Linked DNA regions of Homo sapiens: all the other regions are linked to region 3. Evidence: promoter capture Hi-C in human tissues and cell types (Jung and others, 2019). All regions are on one chromosome and are shown on one strand. The core of a region is centred on a gene start or on the middle of the fragment in contact, and the rest is flanking DNA. Distances in the headings are between cores, read along the strand shown. Region 1 has its middle 25 kb from the start of TIGD2. Region 2 overlaps FAM13A (family with sequence similarity 13 member A). Region 3 holds the start of PIGY (phosphatidylinositol glycan anchor biosynthesis class Y).

What was found. Contacts are between HindIII fragments. The study calls those that stand out against the background at their distance.
Region 1: a fragment that was not itself captured here is called in contact with the fragment with the promoter of PIGY in region 3 in 2 of the 25 tissues and cell types used here (IMR-90 fibroblasts and hippocampus).
Region 2: a contact is called between a fragment that was not itself captured here and the fragment with the promoter of PIGY in region 3, in 1 of the 25 tissues and cell types used here (spleen).

Annotation. Positions count from the first base shown.
Region 1 is chr4:89,134,458-89,138,966 of GRCh38, reverse strand. No RefSeq gene overlaps it. Among named protein-coding and RNA genes, the nearest start is that of TIGD2, 25 kb to the right of the region's middle. The HindIII fragment of the contact is 7,650 bases long and covers 1-4,509 here.
Region 2 is chr4:89,043,597-89,047,926 of GRCh38, reverse strand. The region is part of intron 1 of FAM13A (family with sequence similarity 13 member A); the gene reads left to right. Among named protein-coding and RNA genes, the nearest start is that of FAM13A, 11 kb to the left of the region's middle. The HindIII fragment of the contact is 6,600 bases long and covers 1-4,330 here.
Region 3 is chr4:88,521,591-88,526,043 of GRCh38, reverse strand. PIGY (phosphatidylinositol glycan anchor biosynthesis class Y) reads left to right here and starts at 2,268. Exons shown (of 2, transcript NM_001042616.3): 1 at 2,268-2,546; 2 at 4,015-4,453. The coding sequence starts at 4,255. It overlaps PYURF (PIGY upstream open reading frame), which reads left to right and starts at 2,268. Exons shown (of 2, transcript NM_032906.5): 1 at 2,268-2,546; 2 at 4,015-4,453. The coding sequence starts at 2,344. The coding sequence ends at 4,156. It overlaps PIGY-DT (PIGY divergent transcript), which reads right to left and starts at 2,234. Exons shown (of 2, transcript NR_134663.1): 1 at 2,112-2,234; 2 at 1,053-1,279. It also overlaps a transcript of HERC3 not described here. RefSeq lists an enhancer at 2,911-2,970. The HindIII fragment of the contact is 23,527 bases long and covers 1-4,453 here.

The DNA.
Region 1 (4,509 bases), core at 782-3,281, 610 kb before region 3:
TTAATTTTTTTAGAGACAAGGTCTCACTCTGTCACCCAGGCTGGAGTGCAGTAGGTGTGATCATAGCTCATTGCAGCCTTGATCAAGCAATCCTCCTACCTCTACCTCCCAAGTAGGTAGGACTACAGGTGCATGTCACCACACCTGGCTAATTTTTAAAAATTGTTTTTGTAGAGACGGGGTCTCACTGTGTTGCCTAGGCTGGTCTCAAACTCCTGGCCTCCCAAACTGTTGGCCTCCCAAAGTGTTGGGATTACAGGTATGAGCCACTGGGCCCTGTCCAGATGGCTTTTAGAATGGGATTCTGCATTGGCAAGAATTGGATTCAGCTACTTTGAGCTCCAAAGTGGGAGCAAAATATTTCAGTTTCATCACAAAATGTAACACCCAGGAAGTCAAATGAGACTGAACTGAGGCATATCAGAAGTAGCCTGGAGTAGCCTTTCTCAGTCTTTTTACCCTGGAGAAATTCTTGAAATAATTTTCCAGTATCAGGAAATCCTTACATAAATGTTCTTAATATCTGCTAATCACAGAATATTACCGTGATCATAAGCAATAGGTATAATAATCCAATAATTGTCAATCCTTTTTTGAGAAACAAATTATCTTTTTCTATGGATACCTTATTAGCTTAGTTTTTCTGTGTGCTTCTCCTTCACCATAAAAGACATCAACCCTAACATAAATTGGTACAATAGGTAAAGAAAACTTAGCTTCCCTTTTATTTTTATTTACTACTTGATTTTTAAACCATATCCAATGGTTAGTCCAAGTTATCCAAGAAACCAAGATTGGATTTAAACAGGTAAGGATTTTATTAAGGGAAATACCTTAGAGGGAAAACACAAGGGAGACTGGAGCCCTGGAAGAGCCATCAGACCATGAAGCAGGTAGGACCCCGAGTGAGGGAAGAAGGAAGAAAGGTGGGGTGTTGAGTAGCCTCGACGGCCATGAGGTCTGAGGAAGGGTTAGCAAGGCTATCAGGGAGCCAAAGTCAGCCATCACGGGGGTCTAATGACATGCAGAAATGGCCTGCCATAGCATTCCTCCTGTACTCAGTCACCGGCCAGGAGCAGTCCCTGGGAAGCACGGCCTTAGTACCAACCCCGCAATGGAGTGCGGAGCACGGCAGCGGGGCTGAGCTCCCTACAGGTGGAGGTCTGCAAGCTGCATTCTTATGGCCTCTGCATCCAGAAAGCCTAAAGGTTTGCCGTCAAGTCCTACTCTACAAGTAGCTGAGAAGGTACGCTGTGTGCTATATGGTAGATTAAGGTTTGTTTCCCCTATTTAAAACTAAGGATGACTTTTTCCCCAAACTGTCTTGAAAAAAAAAAGTTGTTTAGCTTACATTTCTTGAAAGTAATATTTTACTTTCTTTTTCATAAGTTATTAAAAAACATATAAGGCAAACAATAAATTTCTGTTAACTAGCAAGTTTAAGCCAAAAACTTATAATTTACTTTTTCTAAAGGTAGGCTTGATTGATTGAATTTGAATAAAATTTACGGTGATGGAGAAGAACAACACACGCTGGGACCTGTAGGGGGAGAGGGGAGTGACAGCATCAGGAAAAACAGCTAATGGGTGCTGGGCCTAATACCTGGGTGACGGGCTGATCTGTGCCGCAAACCATCATGGCACACGTTTACCTATGTAACAAACTTGCACATCCTGCACATGTACCCCAGAACTTAAAATAAAAGTTGATTAAAAAAAAAGGTTATGTTGATTTAGTTAATGTTATTTACAACATGAAAATTAGACAATGCAATTAGTACAACTATTAAAACCATAAGCCACAGAATATTAATAAAAGTATACCCTAAGACACACTTTTTAACAAAGCTTTCAAAAAATTATTTTCTTCCTGAGTAACATGATTAAGCTCAAGTATAAGACTAGCTGTTATGATCATAATAATTTTATATGTGTCGAATTTTTATATCTCCTCTATATACCTATGCATAAAATTTGTTACTTTTGAAACTAGAAATAAAGAACAAAGTAACTTGAAACTTGTGCTATTTTTCTGCTGTACAATAATACAATGCTGGATCAAACTTGAGATAAACACACATGGATGACATTTCAACTAAAATGAGTTGATATTTTTCCTTGCTCATGATGATTGTTAAACAAGTCAAACTTGTTCACATATGTAACGAATTGAAAAAAATGCAGCAGAATGTTTATTGCTTTCCTGTGACTAGCAGGATACTCTTCATTCACAGAAATCCAAAAGTCGTCTAGGAGCAGATGAGTAAGCCTTATCTTGACTGCATGATCAGATGGCAGCTTACTAAGTTATTTTTCCTCTTTCAAAGTCAGGTTCTCAAACTGTAGAGTAGCAGTAGAAGATTCAGAGAAAAGGTTTTTCACCTTTGTGTTGAAAGAAAGAAAAAATACTGTGCCATTTTGTTCTGCGGTTCTTCAAGGTGGCTTTCTATAAAATTTAACTCTTACTAATATCTTTCCTCATTCTTAAACCCAAGTAGCAGTGGGAAAATTTTAAAATTTGCCATTGCAATATGATTTTTCTAAAAATTCAGATTTATATAAATCAAAGAATCTTGTCACTTGAAATCATGCTACTTTCTCCAAGGTCTTATAGATACTCATTCAACTGGTTCATGTGATGAAAAATATTTGCTAAGTAGTTCATTGCTGTAGCCACCACCTTCTTATTCAAAATACTCAGCAAAAGCTGGCCTACCTTGAAAATACTCATGCACTCCAATCCACCTGTCAGCTAAAGCATACTGTTGCAAATCCTTCCTCTGCTAAGCCACAGATTTCTATATGTAGCAGGAGATGTATGTAATCTTTGTCCAAATAATAACACAATTTTTAAAACATTATGGCATGAATTGGTTTTTATTTAACAAAGCCAACCATTTTGTAGTATCATTCAGAACTTTTATCACTTCATCTACAGGGTTATCTCTCTGTGAAGAAAGCAATATGTTGTGACAACCTCAGATCCAAGAAATTCAACAAACCCAGGCACAAGCAACATGAAGAAAATTATAGCAAGGCACAAATCAAATTTCCCCAAACTAATGATAAAGAGAAGATCCTAGGAACCAGAGAAGAAAGCCTTGTTACATATACAGGAACAAAGGTGAGGATGACTTCAGATTTCTCATCATAAAGAATGCATGTGAGAACTAGAACAAATTATTACAGTTCTGTCCTGGTTAAGAAATGACACGTGTTTTGGAAATTCATGTGTCAAGAGCAAATGATAAAGAACGAGACTCCCAGGTGTCTCGTGATATTCTTCCTTTTATCATTCTTTAATTCCCTAAGTATCCTGTGGTTCCTTGAAGCTAGGCAGAGAGCCTCCTTCAGGTCTTTATATTCCCATTGCCAATATGTGTTCCAAAAAAAAAAAGAACACTACTGCGGGGGGAAGCTGTTACTAGAAAACAAGAAAGACCATTATCATTCCCCTTTACTTTTATGCTACCTGTGGATTTTTATACCCACATTGTAAAATATCTATCAAGTGCAAATACACTTAATAGACATAAGTGGAAGAAGTAGAAAGTTCACATGTATGTTAGATATCCAGTTTATCCCTTACATTTTAATAGTCCTCAATGAATAAGCTAATTCAGATAATGAAATATTTCTTTATAGTTATATAAGGGAATCATAAAGTCATTATCCCAGTTTGATTACGCAAAATGTGAGAAATTACTGCATTGTGTGTTTGTGTGTGTTTATGCAATACTATTTACTATGTGCTAAGCATTGTTCTAAGCACTTTACATATACTAATTCGCTTAATCCACATACCAATCCTGTGAGGCAGGTCTTATGATTCTCCTCATTTTGTAAGTGAGGAAACAGAGACGGAGGGTAAGATCACATGACCAGTGTGTGACAGAATGAGAATTCCAACCCAGGCAGTCAGAATCCACAGTCCATGTTCTTTACCACCTCACTATTTTGCCTTTCCACTACACAGTGTTAAATAGGGACAGAACACTGTGAAAACTAAGTTTAGGATGCTAGCCAAGCAGGAGAAAAACCAAAGTGGCCCTTTGCCAATCAGATGTTGTTTTGCTGCATCTGAAGCAACAAGACTTCTAGACATCTTTCTGTGGGAGTTTTAGTACAATCCCATTTTCCCAGGCTCTGGTTTTGTAACCTCGAAGAGCCAAAGGGAGAAAAATAGATTAGCTAAAAGAATTATATTGTTGCCTTCGCTTTTGTGTTAATATAAGATGTGTGTGTGTGTGTCTTTGTTTTTAACAAAAGTTTAAAAAGTAAATAAATAATTTTGAAAGTAGAAAAAAGCTTATAGAAGAAGGATATAAAGAAAGAAAATATTTTTGTATAACTGTACAGTGTGCTTATGTTTTAAGCTAAGTATTATTACAAAGGAGTCAAAGTTTTTTTAAGTTAAAAAGTTTATAAAGTAAAAAAGTTACAGTAAGCTAAGCTGAATTTATTCTTAGAGAAAAAGAATAAATTTGTTTTATAAATTTAGCGTAGCCT
Region 2 (4,330 bases), core at 1,102-3,601, 520 kb before region 3:
CTTCATGAGTAATGATATTGGGCATATTTTCATATGCATATTAGCCATTGTATATCTTCTTTGGCTAAATGTGTTTTCATATTTTTTGCCTGTTTCTTAGTTGTGTCATTTTGGTTTTATTGAATTATAAAAGTTCTTTATGTTCTGGATACAAGTCCTTTATTAGATACATGATCCACTGGGTGTGGGGTTTTTGTCCTCTCTTCCAAATCACCAAAGCCGCTAGTTTTCACCGCTGGTTCCCCCTGTAGTAACACTACTGTGCCAACCCAGCCTAGGGCATGGAGGGGTTGGGAATAGGCAAGAGTGCTGCAAACTCCCACTATTCTTAAGTACACTTCATCTCCCATTCATGAATAAATGTTTCTCAATGTAATTTTTATATCTCTGATCAATTTCTAGAGCCCTGAAACTTTTTTTGTTTGGTCTGGTTTTATACATTTTTTTAGGAGAGTATTTGCAGACCTCTTCACTCTACCATCATGGAATTCAGCAATAGGTCTTGACTTGTGTTTATATAGAGAATTTAACTGTTTATAATAACCTTTAATTTTCTTGTTGTGATAGTAACACGTGTCTGGAGTATAAAATGAGGAACTGCAGGTAACTTAAGAGGAGAAAATAAGCATTATTCAAGATTTGACAACCCCCCCAAAAAAAACCACTTAATATATTTGTGTATGTCCTTCTAAAGTTTTTCTGTGATCATATAGACTTATAAAAACAGATTATGCTTGACATGAGTTTTATAGCCTTCTCTCCACCCCACCCCCGATAACAGTATATTCCAAATATCTGGCAGTCCCTTTGTATAAGATATGAGTCCTGCTCACTGTTACTTGCCCTTCCCCTGTGTTCGGAGCCTGGTTGGAGAGAGAATGACCTATGAAGAAGCTCCAGCTTTTGCTGGGCACTGCCAAATTGCCTTCCAGAAATTTGAGCCACTTTAGATCCCACCTATACTTCTTTCCAACATCCGTTTCTCTTTTTTCTTTCTTTTTTTTTACTTAAAAAAATTTATTTTTATTACTCTTTGGTTTTTACTCAACTCTTTGAGTTACTTTTCTTTTCTTTTCGAGATAGGGCCTCACTTTGTCACCCAGACTGGAGTGCAGTGGTGTGAGCATGGCTCACTGCAGCCTCAACTTCCTTGGCTCAAGTGATCCTCCCACCTCAGCCTCCTGAGTACCTGGGATTATAGGCACATGCCTCTACACCCGGCTAATTTTTGTATTTTTTTGCAGAAAAGAGGTTTTGCTATATTGCCCAGGCTGGTCTTGCACTCCTGGGCTCAAGCAGTCTGCCTGTCTTGGCCTCCCAAAGCACTAGGATTACAGGCATGAGCTACTGTGCCCGGCCACTCTTTTCTTTTTTTAAAAAATTTCTATTAGTAGAATGGATAACAAATGGTATCACATTATGATTTTTGCCCGTCTTCGATTACTAGGAATTTCACTACCTTCTGAGAAAATCTATTCCATCAATAGAAGTGACTGTTATTTCTTCTTTATATGTCTTAAAACGTGTCTCCATGTAACTGCCATTTACTTTCTCCTACCGTCTGAACCACGTGGCAGCTCTTTTAAAACCTGAATATGTTCCAACCTCAAATCTTCTCTTTTGAGTATAACTGTTCCAGGTTTTTCATTTCTTCTTCATATTACATGGTTATACTTTTATTTTATTTTTAATTTTTTTGCTGGTCTTTTCATCAAACTTTCCCAGTCATTAATTAATTGGTTAAAATTTGTTCTCTGGTAGTTTGGACAAGGAAGGTTCAGGTGTGCAGTATTCTCTTAGCCTTTGTCTGTTCAAATTGTAGCTTTTATAGTTGAAGGACAGCTTGGCTGATTATTAAATATGGCTCATAATTTTTTTTATTTTTTCTTTTTTTTTTTTTTTGAGATGGAGTTTCGCTCTTGTTGCCCAGGCTGGAGTGCGATGGCGCAATCTTGGCTCACTGCAACCTCCGCCTCCCAGGTTCAAGGGATTCTTGTGCCTCAGCCTCCCGAGTAGCTGGGATTACAGGCATGCGTCACCATGCCCAGCTAATTTTTGTACTATTAGTAGAGACGGGGTTTCTCCATGTTGGTCAGACTGGTCTCAAACTCCCAACCTCAGGTAATCTGCCCGCTTTGGCCTCCCAAAGTGCTAGGATTACAGGCATGAGCCACCACGCCCTGCCTTGGCTCATACTTTCTTTCCATAAATATTTTGTAAGCCTTTTATACTCTGCCAAGGTCAAATATTGCAATCTATAAATTTGAGGCCACTCTTATTTTTCTTTTATTACATAGTGCATGATTTTTGCTTGGCTGTGCAAAAGATTCTTTATTGTTAGTCTAATAATTTCCTTATAATATATCTTTGTGTGGACTGTTCCGGGTTGTGATGTGCCTTTCAATATGTAAACTCAAAGCACTTTTATTTAAACAAAGATTTTGTGAATTATGTCTTTAAATATTCTATTCCATTGTTTGATTTTCTTCATTGGGGATTCCAAAGAGTGGAAATGGGGCATAAAGTGGCATCAGTTAGCTGCTTTCTGTAGCTCTGAAATCATTGTGATTTCTAAAAATGTTTCATTATATCTACTTTCCTCATTTCCTCTCTGCCCCTTACTGAGGTGAACAGTTTCTGTTCTTCTTTGTGTTCTTATAATTCAGTCTTCACTTCTGAAATGTTTTTTCCTTTTCCTTTTCCCCATTTCCTGAGTTCCACCAGTCTCCACTTCACATTCTCCTATTATCTGATCACCTCTTTCCTGAATTTTTTTATTTCTGATTTGTGTTCTTTCATCATTGTGATCAATTCTTTAACTTTTTTTATTGTGATAAAATATACATAACATAAAATTTACTATTTTAACCATTTTAGATATATAATTCTGTAAGATTAAGCATATTCACAATGTTGTGCATCACTACCACTATCCATTTCAAGAACTTTTTATCACCTCCAACATAAACTTTATAACCATAAAACAATAACTTCCTATTTCTCCCACCTCCCAGCCCCTGGTAGCCATTGTCCTTCCCTCTGTCTCTATACATTTGCCTAGCCTAGGTATCTCGTATTAGTGGAACTAGACAATTTTTGTCTTTTTGTGTTTGGTTTATTCACTTTGCATAATGCTTTCAGGGTTCATCCATCTTGTAGCATGTGTCAGAAGTTCATTCCTTTTCAAGCCTGAATAATATTCCATTTTATGTATATTCTACCTTGTATTTATCCTTTCATCTGTTGCGAAACAATTTAGATTGTTTCTACTTTTTGGCTGTCGTGAATAATGCTGCTATGAACATCGTTGAACAAATGTTTGTTTGAGTCCCTGCTTTCAGAGTATGTACCCAGAAGGGGAATCATTGGATAATATAGTAAATCTATGTTTAACTTTTTGAGGAACCATTTAGTTGTTTCCCACTTTGGCTGTTCTACTTTATATTTCCACTGATGATGCACAGGGGTTACAACTTTTCCACCTCTTAACCAATACTTGTTATTTTCTTTCTTTCATTTTTATAATAGCCATCTTAATTGGTGTGAAGCGATATCTCATTGTGGTTTTGATTCTCACTTCCCTAAAGACCAGTGATGTTGAGCATCTTTTAATGTGCTAATTAGCCACATTATGTCTTATTTGGAAAAATGATTATACACGTCCTTTGTTCATTTTCGAACTGGGCTATTTTTTGTTGTTGAATTGTTGCAATTCTTTACATATTTTGAATATGTATTCAGATATATGAATTGCAAATATTTTCCCCTATTCTATAGGATTCTATTCTATGTGTTGTGTCTTTTCACTCTGTTGTTAGTGTCTTTTTTTTTGATATGGTCTCACTTTGTTGCCAAGGCTGGAGTGCAGTGGTGAGATCATGGCTCACTGTAACCTTGACCTCCTGGACTCAAGCAGTCCATCCACCTCAGCCTCCTGAGTAGCTGGGACTCTAGGTGTGTGCCACCATGCCCAGCTTGCTGGCTTGCTTATTGATTGATTGATTGATTGATTGTATTTTGTAGAGACAGGGTCTTGCTGTGTTGCCCAGACTGTCTTGAACTTCTGGACTCAAGCAATCCTCCTGCCTCAGTCTCTCAAAGTGTTGGGATTACAGGCATGAGCCACTGCTCCTGGCCATGGTGTCTTTTGATGCACAAACATTTTTAGTTTTGATGTTCAATTTATCTTTTTGTTGTTGTTGTCTGTGCTTCTATTGTCACATCCTTATTAAAATTTTGTTCTTTTTGTTAGTTTATAGTTTCCGTCTGCTTCTTGGCAGCATTTTTCTGATGAGTTGTTGTAGGAAGATTGTGATGCTTTTTTATACTT
Region 3 (4,453 bases), core at 1,019-3,518:
CTATTATTATTGTATTTCACAAGTGAGAAGGTTGAGGGTGAGAACTTAAGTAGCTTCTCCAAGATCACACAGCTATATTGTATCTGAGCCCAGAAACCATCAGGTTATTGTGCACAGGCCTATGTGACACGAAAGGTCAGTCATGTGAATAGTGAAAAGGGACTAACTTTTAAAAGACCAGTTCCAGTCCCATGATCCTATCCTATCATCTACATTTAGCTTAGTATACTACAGGCAGAAATGAATTGTATTTCTTCATTACTAAGGGCTATTTAGGGACATATTGCTTTGATATGTTGCAACTTAATACACACATGGTGATAGTCATACATTCATATGTTCCTTAAATATTGGTTGTTGATTTCTGGTGTTATAAATTTGAGGATGTTTTCAATACTTTGCTGTTACTCTCTATTCTTCCCCTAAATAAAGTAAACTGAACTGCCTCAAACCCTCTATGTGGAGGCAAACTGAAACTAATTTATTTATAACTGGTTAGAAAACCCAGTTGATAGAGATCTGTCAGCCAAGCTAGCTGAGGCTTAAGCATGGGTGCCTTCCCCTACCCAACAAGCGCCAAGGGTTGGGCCCACTCAGCGCTTGCAGAAGTCAAGCGCTGTTTCTCCTTAAGCAGAAACTTATCTTTCCTACAGCTCACCCCTTCCCTTGAGCCCAAAGTATCAACTGACTTCAACTGAAAAATTAATTCCTGCTACTGCCCTAGTCGGAAATAGTGTGAAGGTGACATAGGAACTTTACAGTAGTTTCCCTTGAGGGTATGTCCCGATAACTGCCCTATTCTCTAGTCCGTTAGTAACTCTAATAACGGAAAGTTATGACTGTGAAAGATTGCTTTGTGAGGGAAGGAAGGTGAGGCAACCAGAGACTTTCATTATCTCTTAAATATCTATCCAGTAGAAGTGTTTCCTTTTTGGTATCCTATAAACTACATTAACCTTAGAAAATCTTCTGAGCATTAGTGAACAAAGAACATCAAAAAATAAACTGTTTTTTTTAAAAAAAACAGGATGGCCCAAAAAACAAACAAAAAATTAGGATGAACATATAAACATTTGTCAGTTTATTTTTACATTGGAGTGGAAGAGAAATTTGAAAATATAAACATATTTTTGGATTCTGTACTTCCAGCTCCAGGAACTCAAAGTGTGAAATGATAATGCCCAGTGATGCAAAAAAAAAGTTCAGGTTGATATTCAGCAGAACGGAGGGAAAAAATGGATGACTAATGAGAATCTTTGAGTCTTCGGACATGGAAAAACTAGATGAACTAAAAATAAAAATAGACAACATTAATGGAGCATTAATTTGTGCCAGGCACTTTTCTAAATGTTCTTCGAATGCACAATCACATTTATGCCCTACCTACAAGGTAGGTACAATTATTAGTCTTATACAGATAAGGAAAATGAGCAGTTAAGTCATTTGCCAAAGTCATCCAGCTACTAATTGTGGACAGGGAACCAAGCTGTCAGGCCCCAGAGCCCAAGTTCCCATCTACTACACTGTAAGAAAGAGATCTAACATGGTCACTTTCTTGGAGAGTGGGAAGCAAACCTGGGATACAAATTCACTGAATGGATCACCCACTCATTGAATGGATCTTTAACAGGCAGATCACATCTGCCTGTTACACAGCTATTTAGGCCCCTTGCGGCCTCCAAGCTCATTTATAGAAGTAAATTAGCTGTGCTTTATTACGCAAATACTTCACAATGACTGGGTCTCAGGCAGGAAGAATTTATATATTTTGGAGGGTCAGAGGCCTAGGCCCTTCCTTCCAGGTTCTCACTTTTTTTAATGAGAGAGAAAAAAGCCAAACAAGGTTACAGAAACTAATGGTATAGTAAAGATGTACATGAAACAAATGAGCGCTTTCAATACATCCATGACAATACATTCGGTACAATACATAACAGTGTGTTTGAAACTTCACTTGGAGGTAACCACGTAGGTCCAAGCCTAACTCCCTACAACTCTGAGGCCTGGCCACTGGCTTCCTAGCATCCTTGGACAGGCCCCGGTGAAAACCCAGACACCTTGACTTAAACACTGGTTTAGTTTGTAGTCTGGTAAGGCGGCGGGGCACTCACCAGAGGCCTCTGCCCTGGGGCTGTCCTCCGGACTATAGATGACGCCCGTGGGAAAAGCAGTCGGAGCAGAAGCACCCTCGGAACCAAAGCGCCCGCCCCGCCTACTCCTCGGCAGCGTTTCCTGGAGGACCAGGGGGCGGGGCCTGCCCGGCTGGCCTGGACGAACGGGAAGCCGGGAGCTCGGCCACGGGTGGCGAGGCTGCGGTGAGGCCTGGTCTCCGGCTGCCAGACCATGCTGAGTGGAGCACGCTGCAGGCTCGCCTCAGCGCTGCGGGGAACGCGCGCGCCGCCGTCCGCGGTCGCCCGTAGGTGCCTGCACGCGTCGGGGTCGCGGCCTTTGGCCGACCGGGGCAAGAAGACTGAGGAGCCGCCCCGCGACTTCGATCCGGCGCTGCTGGAGTTCCTGGTGTGCCCGCTCTCCAAGAAGCCGCTCAGGTAACTCGCTGGCCTTGGCCCTTCCTTTGCAGCCTCCCGGTGGGCGGAAAGGGAGCGGTGGACCGCGGCCTCTTGCAGCCACTGGGGCCTTGTAGGTCGGTCAGGTACTCTCCGCTGCCACATTCTGGACTCTGTCCTCGCCGGGCGCACAGCGGGCAGGACGGGGGAGACCGGAGGCCAGGGGAGCTGCGTCCCACATCTCCCAGAACGCAACGCCAGCCTGCGGGAATGGCTCGAAGCGTTTTAGGGTTCGCGACCGGCTGCGCATTGCAATCACCCGGGGACCGTTTTAAAAATGCCGATTCCCCGACAGCCCCCAAGACGGGCAGACTTGGAATGCTCGCGGGATGGGACCTGAACATTTGTATTTTCTTTTCCTTTTTTTTTTTCCTTTTAAGAGACAGGGTGCCCCCTACGTTGCCCAGACTGGCCTAGAACTCCCGCCTCAGCCTCCTCAGGAGTCGAGAGACAGGCGCCGCCCCCACGCCCAGCTTATCTGTGTTCTTAAACGGTCCCTAAATGATTTCTAATGTACCACCAGGTTTATGAACCACTGCGATTCAGGACAAGTCCGAAGCCTTCCGGTTTTTAAGCCAAGATAATGAAAAGTATTGTTGTACCCTCCAGATTCTTGTGAAAGTGTCTTGTACAACTGGTGCCTGACAATCTTAAGCAATTCAGCTGTGTTTGCTGCCCAGTGGCTCTTAGTTGTGGCCTAGCAGGTTTCGTAGAAGCCTCTTTAACTAGTTTTTGGGAAGACAGCTCTACAGTTTCCAAGCTACCAAAATTGAATATTGACAACACTAACGCTAGTATTACAAATCGCATAAACACCAAAATGTTATCAGTGGTTATCTTTGAATGGTAGATTGCTAGCAATTTTTCGTATTTCTTTTTCCCGTAATAAACATATTATTCAATTTTCTCGAACCTTGAAATTATCATTTGATTTACGTTTATAACTAGCTCACTGCAGACTTAGTGCTTTCGAAAGTTTCTTCATTTCTGCCCTCTCACCTTTTCCAGTGATTTCCTTCTAATGGATTAGTTAAGTTTCTCTACTTAGCATTTATTCTAAAATGAAGAAGTTGATTTTTCTCTAGTGTTTATTCCAGTAGTAAATTAACAGGGATGGTTTGGGGGTTGACCAAAGTAATGAAGGAATATTTGGATAAGAGAGGGGGATCTTTTCTGACTAGTATGAAAAAAAATTAAGGAATAACTTGTGAATAAGGTGAAAAAGAGAATATGAGAGAAACTACTAAAATGGGAATAATTATAGATTGTAAGAGAATTTTTCTAAGATAAAAGGTTGAATTGGCTATTGTTGCTTTTAGAATTAAAGAAGACTATTCTGGGATTAACTCCGTACCAAAAATTGGATAAATGGTGGTATTTGTTGAAAATCAGGCTCTTCAAGCATTTTATTTTCCCACAACTCATTTTGTTCTTTTTTTTTCCACCTCAGATATGAAGCATCAACAAACGAATTGATTAATGAAGAGTTGGGAATAGCTTATCCAATCATTGATGGGATCCCTAATATGATACCACAGGCAGCTAGGATGACACGTCAAAGTAAGAAGCAAGAAGAAGTGGAGCAGCGCTAGTTCATAATTTAAAAAAATTAAAAAAACGCAACAGCCAACTTTTCTTAATACCATATACCTTTTAAAACACAGTGGCAGGTAATAAGTGGAAGAGAAGAATGTTTCTGTCTCTTCCTACGTTGACTGTTCTTATTCCACTGGTTTCTTTAGCAGGACTGTTCTACTCAGCCTCTGTGGAAGAAAACTTCCCACAGGGCTGCACTAGCACAGCCAGCCTTTGCTTTTACAGCCTGCTCTTGCCTATTACCATACCAGTGTATGTATTCTTCCACCTTTGGACTTGGATGGGTATTAAAC